Regions from separate parts of the Homo sapiens genome. Here region 1 is linked to region 2. The links are contacts of gene promoters, found by promoter capture Hi-C in blood cells and fetal thymus (Javierre and others, 2016). All regions are on one chromosome and are shown on one strand. Each heading gives the region's core, a stretch centred on a gene start or on the middle of the fragment in contact. The rest is flanking DNA. Distances are from core to core; before and after follow the strand shown. Region 1 holds the start of LOC124902419 (a long non-coding RNA gene). Region 2 holds the start of LINC00842 (long intergenic non-protein coding RNA 842).

Region 1 (3,530 bases), core at 723-3,222, 140 kb after region 2:
ATGCTTTCCCCCGGGGCTCTTCCTCACCTCTCCAGCCTTCCTGCTTGGCCCGATGCAACAAAATTGTGCAGGAGCAACTGCTCCCTCTTCCTGAAATGCCTCCCCGCCCCTGCTCAGGTTCCTCCATCAGTCTGGACCTGAGCACCACCCTGACCATAGCACCCTCCACTCTGTAGGTGCTTGCAGGTTTTGATACTGGAGCACAGGCCGGGCGCAGTCACTCAAGCCTGTAATCCCAACACTTTGGGAGGACAAGGTGGGTGGATCACCTGAGGTTAGGAGTTCAAGACCAGCCTGGCCAATGTGGCGAAACTCCGTCTCTAGCAAAAATACAAAAATTAGCCACGCATGGTGGCGGGCACCTGTAATCTCAGCTACTTGGGAGGCTGAGGCAGAATAATCACTTGAACCTGGGAGGCGGAGGTTGCAGTGAGCCAAGGTAGCGCCACTACACTCCAGCCTGGGCAACAGAGTGAGACTCCATCTCAAAAAAAAAAAAGATACTAGGGAGCAAAGGCCACCCTGCCCCTGCCACACAGGAGGTACTCAGCCTCTTGGGACTACTTCCCTGACCCCCAATTCCCCAGGGAAGCTTAGCTGCTCCCACCTCAGGCTCCCATCACAGTTCTCAATCTTCACATTTGTTGGCCGTTGGGGTGTCTGCTCCACCTGAGCTTCAGGAAGACCAGAACAAGGTCTTTTGGCCGGTCTTCGTCAGCACAGGGCACGGCACAGAGTCGGCCTCAGGCATGTTTGCTAGGTGAGTGAATGAATGAATGATACTGGAGTAGTGGGCTTCTGCCTCACCTAGGGGTTCTGTTAAAATGCAGACTCTGATTCGGGGGCTCAGAGTGTGCTGAGATTCTGCCTTTCCATCAACTTGCAGGTGGTGCTGAGTCCCTGGGTACATGGAGGAGCAAAGACATGAACCTTTCCCTGCTCCTGGCAACTGGCTCCATCCTACTCCCTATGGGCTTCATGAACTTGCCTGTGGTTGGGGATACTTCCTGCCCTTATGGGCCCCAGAACCCCTATCTCTTAAAAAGGGAAATTTCCCTGGACATCTCTCAGTTGCTGTCCACCCTGTGAAATGAACCCAGGAAGCTATGGTTAGGTACCCTAGCCCGGTCTGGCCCAAATGCAAGTGTTCTGGCGGTGAACACTTAGCATAGGGTTTGGAGAGTCCCTCTCGGTGATGTGCTAAAGCAACCTATATGGCACCACCTCACCAGGGGGCACCGAGGCAAGCAGGATTCCCAGAAGTCACAGACCCGAAGAGAGAAAAAGAACCAGTCCCTGGGCTTGACATGAGACAAAGGAGACCAGAATGGACACACGGCAGCCACTCTCCTATCAAGTTTTCCACATCACCTTCATCCCCTCATTTCAGCCATACCAACAACCCAGCAAGGCAGAGGCAGCAGGCCTCCCATTTGCCTTACAATGGAGGGACTAAGCCCAGAGAGGTGTGAGCACCTCACTAGCATCATCTAGCAGTGAGTAGGGTAGGCACAATGGTACCTGGCTCTGAATGCCTGGTCTAGGTTCTGTCCCTCACATGGCACTGGGTTAAGAGACATCCTGAGACATGCAGGGATACCCTTGGGAGTTTGGAGGAGCTTCAGGCACCATGCATAGCCAATAAATCAGAATAAACAACTAGTCAGGAAAATCAAATGCTTGGATTTTATTATTAAAATATTTTCAAAGCTGATGAAATTGGAAAATGACGAACCGAGACCTGACTCTATTGCTCATCCCCAAGTTAAGAGAGCCAGCTTTCAGCTCACCTGCTGGGCAACTTGACAGAAAGAATGCACACACACACACACACACACACACACACACTCACACACATACCTCCCCTCCTAGACCTTCCAAGCAGGGAGTCTCGCCCGAGTAACACATACCCTTTACTCGCATTCTTCCCTTGATTTATCAGGAGAGAATGGTCAGAACTTAACAGAAAAAAAAGGACCCAGGCTCTTGGGTTCTGAGAGGGGATGGGGTGAGGCTGTCTGTCATGATGACCTTGACCTTTTCCTTCCTGCACCTCCAGATTCCCTCTCCCCTTCTTTAAGAGTGGAGGAGGTGGTACCTAGGGGCCAGGACCCTCCATTTCAGTCTGTACAAACCACTAATTCCTTCTGTGCCCTTAGGCAAGTCACTCGCCCTGCCTGGTCAATAAAGTCTCCTTCTTTACTGAAAAATACATCAGCTTGCCTCATGTGGATGTCCTGAGACATAAATGACAGATGGGAAATGAGGGGCTTTGTAAGATTTAAAATGCTGTGTCCCTGAGAAGGATGTTGCACTGGTTTGGAGCCAGGATCTGATAAACAGGAGACAAATGAAACACTGGAATAAAAAAATACTTGTAACTTATATGAAAAAAATAAACGTATGTTATTAATATACAAAGAGCTCTAACCAATCAATAAGAAAAAATCCTGGGAAATTGATATGAACATAGGCAGATCAGAAATGAAGAAATTCAAGTGCTTATGAACATATTGGAGAATAATAATAGCTTACATTTACTTGGCCCTTATTTTGAGCCAGGAACTGTGCTGGCACTTTACATGAATGATGCCATTAAATCCTCCAATCCAATTAATAAGGTAAAGACCCATTACCATCCTCATTCTATAGATGAAGAAACTGAGGTCCAGGGAGGTTCAGCAACTTTCCCAGCATCACACAGCTTGAGAGTGCCAGAACAGGAATTCTCACTCACGCAGTCCGGCAGACCACAACCTCACTCACAGGGAACAGATTGCAAATCACAATAACTAGGAAGACATTGTTCCTTCACTTATCAAATTAGCCAAAATATTAAAGTTCGATTAACAATCAAATATTGGCGTGGGTATGAGAAAATATGCGTTTTCATGTATTATTGGTGCAATCTTTCTGGGGAGCAATTTGCCAATACCGGTAGATATTTTACATGTACCACTTGATGAAAAATTTATCCTACAGATATACTCACACCTGAACATAAAACTATACATACAAGGATATTTATTTTTATATGAGAAAAAGGAACTCTCATTCATTGCTAGTAGGAATACGAAATTGTACAGAGATAGTTTGGCAGTTTCTTATGAAGCTAAACATAGTCTTACAGCAATGTTGCCCTGCGTATTTAACCAACTGAAGTAAACATATGTCCACATCAAAACCTGCACATGAATATTTATAGTAGTTTTATTCATAATAGTCAAAACCTGAAAGCAACCAAGATGCCCTTTGGTAGATGAATAAATGGCAGTATGCCCAGACAACAGAACATTTTTCAGCACTAAAAAGAAATGAGTTCTCAAGCTATGAAAATACATGGAGGAAGCTTAAATCCATATTGCTAGGTGAAAGAAGCCTGTCTGAAAAGGCTACATGCTACATGAAGCCAACTCTGTGACATTCAGGAAAACTATAGAGACAGTAAAAAGATCAGTGGTTGCCAGGAGTCCTGGGGAAGGTAAGAGGGGTGAATGGACGGAGCACAGGGGATTTTTAGGTGGTCCAAC
Region 2 (3,615 bases), core at 937-3,436:
TTTTATCTGTTTACGTGTCCTCTCAGAAAAGCTGTGAGCCCCTTGAAGGCAGGAACTTTATTTGTTTTTAAACATTCAGGGCCTAGTAGATAGCAGGCTTTCAACAAATATTTTTGAATAACAACAAACAAGAGTATGGACTTTGGGAACAGGAGAGCCTAGTAGCCAGCGAGCCTGAGCCAATCCTTGATGGCCTCCAATTCTGAGAAGAATCTCTGGGCCCCCTTAGGCTCCCTGTGGAAGAAAGCTTACCCAGTCAATCCTAATAAAAATACTTCTGAGACAGATCTAACAGGACAAAGTGGAGTCTCTCCACTCTTTCAGTAGCTCCTTCACCCCAGGTGCTGTTTGGGGTTCTGACACTGCCATGGCATGGCCAGCAGGATGGCCCCTAGGGCTCCTGGGGCTGCTCTATAAGAGCTTCCCACCCCTGACCTGCAGTCCATGAGGGCAAAGCCAGATCCGGGCACATGCCCATCCGTGTTGTTCTCATGCTCTCAGGGGGTAGAGCTAGTGTGTTGGACTTGGCATGTTTAGGGTCACCTCCCTGAGGGTTGACAACCTGAGCAAAATCAGCATTCCCTTGGCAAGGAATAAAGGGGGAATGGATTTGTGGTCAGCAACCCACCGCCAAGCATTCTGCCTGCAACAGGGTGGGGCTGGCCAGGGGAGGCTCCTCAGGGAAGGTGAAAGCTGTGCAGAGTTTTGCAGGATGACTCAGTGCTTATCAGGTAGACAGATAAGGAAGAACATTCCAGGGAGAGGGAGGAATGCTAACAACAGCAGGGGATCTGGTCTGTACTAGACATGCCAAAGGAATGGTGTGTCCATATCAACAGAGGAGGGAGAGACAGAAGAGAAAGAGCTTGTCAGGGCCTGAGTCAGAGCGGGCTCATGCTGTGGGGCTAAGAAGCTCAAATGATTTCCAGAGACAGTGGGGAAGCTTTACAGGGACAGGCAGGGGAAGATCTTAACCCGGCTTTCGTAGGCCTCTGGCTTGAGTATAGAAGGTGAGTCTGGGACAGGGAGCCCAGCGCCGAAGTGTTGCAACACTATAGGGAGACATACAGACCAATTCCCTCCCACCTAACAGCTCTGTGCTTTGGGGTCCTGGGTTAGTTTCCTGGGAGAAGGCTGGCCTTGGCTACCTCTGTCCTTGACCAAGGACATCGTTTTAAATATTTGTGATGTGTCCTAGGCCACTGCATCTCTGTCCCTGTAGCGAAGAGAAGATACTGATTCCTAAGCTCCTACTCTGAGAACACAAATATCTGCAATACCTCGGTAAGCCCTAGGCCTGAGTGTGAGGTTGCAGGCACTTCCATGGCCCCATGCAGGTGTCTAAGTTCCCTCGTGGTATTTGGCCAAGGGGGGCCCTGTGTGATGCCCTAGCGCGGTGACTACCCGTGTTCCTGGCCCATGGGCATCTTCCACGGAATTCTGGGCTTAGCCTGGGGATTCATGCGGGCGCATCTCTGTGATCTGCTCTGGAGCAGGATGTACATCAGGTCTCTCAGACCTGAGTCCCTGGTGCCTGGCGCTCAGCCTTGACTGAAGTGCTCGGCCCACCCTGCTGGGCCAGCCAGCTCCTGCTCAGGGCCACAGCCCTGTAACCACGGCTTCCTCCCCAGGACTCAGGAATTCTCCCACTCCGGAATGCCTTGCTGCTGGGGTGACCAGGTCTTCACTTGTGAAACAGGAGTCAGCCACCTCAGCCCTGCGCCTGGCCTGGTGGAACATGGGTCACCGCCCCAACCTGGGGCAGCCGCCCCATCCCAACGCAGTTGCTGCCGCTCTCCATGCCTCCCTGTGCCCAGCTAACTGGGGGACTTGTCCCCTGGGAAAACCTGGGTACCCAGGCTGCCTTTGGTTTCAGCCCCTACTCCTCTTCCCGGGCTGCCTTTGCTCCCCGGAAGACCCCTTTCCCCGGGCTGTGTTCACATCGGCTGGGAAGGGTCCCTTGCAGACAGATCTTGGACGAGGTCGCGTCCCCCCTCGTGACCAGCAAACTCCTAAAAGCGGCCCTTGCCCCAGAGCCCCTGTAGCCTCCAACCGGCAGTCAGGAGGCAGCGCCGTCTCAGCGCCGCTTAGTGGCGCCAGGCGTGCCTGGAAATCCGCTTTCGCAGCGCCCCCTCGTAGCCGCCTCCGCCCGCAGAAAGGCGTTCCCTGGACAGAGAAGCGGGCGCGCGGGGGCGGGCGCGCGGGGCCTTGCCGGAGAACCTGACTCTCCGCAGCAGCAGTGGAAGCCGGAGTGACGCGTTGTGTTGAACACCAGTTTTCTGGAGCGCTGTGTGTTCTTAACAGCTGAGCAGTCTGTTTCTCCAATCAGGTTTCAAAGCCACTTCAACTGCACTGGCCCCTGTGGGTCACTGCTGCACCGCCCTGACCCATGTGGGTCCCTGAGGAGCGACCTGCCGGGGCCACCTGGCTGGACGAAAAAGACACACCTTGGACTTAAGCCGTGAGAAAAAAACTTCATCAGTAAGAAGAATGAATAAACAGACTAGGTTGAATCCATACAATGGAATGTTAGCAGACAATAAAAAGAAAATGAACTATTGATGTCCCCTACTGCACAGCAGAAGCTCTGAATCGTGTTCCTGAATGAAAGAAGTCAGGTATGAAAGAATAAACATTGTATGATTCCATTTATATGAAAATGAATCTGTGATTTAAAAATCAGACTAGTATTAGGTTGGTGCAAAAGTAATTGCGGTTTTTGCCTTTTTTTTTTTTTTTTAATAGTTGCTTTGGGGTTTATGGATGGAGTGGCATGGTAGAGGTTAGCTGAAGGGGGCATGAAATAACTTTTTGGGGGTGCTAGAGTGTTGTAAATCTTACAGTGGGGGAGGGACAGGAGTGCAGGCATTTGACAAAACACATTGAATTGTGAAATTTAAGATTTTTGAATTTCTTTGTATGTAAATTACCTGCCAATAAAAACATGACGAATAGAGCAGTTATGAGCATTTGTGTGTAGCTTTTTGTGCAAACTTAAATTATAATTTCTCTGATAAAAGCCCAGGAATGTGATTGTTGAGTAATATGGTAAGTGCATGTTTTTTGAGAAACTGTCAATCTATTTTTGGGAGTGGCTGTGTGTATCATGTTATATTCTCACAAGCAAGGGATGAGAAATTTGGTTTCTCTGCATCCTTGCTAGCATTTGGTTTTATCATTATATTTTTATTTCAACTGCTCAAATAAGTGTGCAGTGATTTCTCATGATCTCAATTTGCATTTCCCCAAAGGCTAATGATGTTAAATATATTTCCACATGCTGATTTGACTCGGCCATGAAATGTCTCTTCATGTCTATTGCCCAATTTCTTATCAGATTTTTTTTTTTACTGTTGAGTTTTGAGAGCTCTTTATGCATTGTAAATGTGAGTCCTTTGTCAGATATGCAGTTTGCAAATATTTTCTCCCCTCCATAGCTTGTCCTTTCATCATCTTAACAGAATATTTTGCAGAGGCAAAGTTTTTAATTTTGATGAAGTCCAATTTATCAATTCTTTCTTTAATGAATCGTACTTGGGTGCCATGCCTATGAACTCATCCTCAACTCCTAGGTCCAGATGATTTTCTCCTGTGTCTTCCTATCATAGCCAGAAA

Evidence for each region. The method cuts DNA at HindIII sites, captures the fragments that hold promoters and counts their contacts. A CHiCAGO score of 5 or more calls a contact.
Region 1: a contact is called between a fragment that was not itself captured here and the fragment with the promoter of LINC00842 in region 2, in 2 of 17 cell types (megakaryocytes and total CD8 T cells). The highest score is 5.6, in megakaryocytes.

Annotation. Positions count from the first base shown.
Region 1 is chr10:46,535,655-46,539,184 of GRCh38, forward strand. LOC124902419 (a long non-coding RNA gene) reads left to right here and starts at 1,615. Exons shown (of 2, transcript XR_007062138.1): 1 at 1,615-3,530. RefSeq lists an enhancer at 167-668. The HindIII fragment of the contact is 2,757 bases long and covers 595-3,351 here.
Region 2 is chr10:46,396,176-46,399,790 of GRCh38, forward strand. It overlaps LINC00842 (long intergenic non-protein coding RNA 842), which reads left to right and starts at 2,187. Exons shown (of 4, transcript NR_033957.2): 1 at 2,187-2,618. RefSeq lists an enhancer at 447-1,062. The HindIII fragment of the contact is 4,014 bases long and covers 946-3,615 here.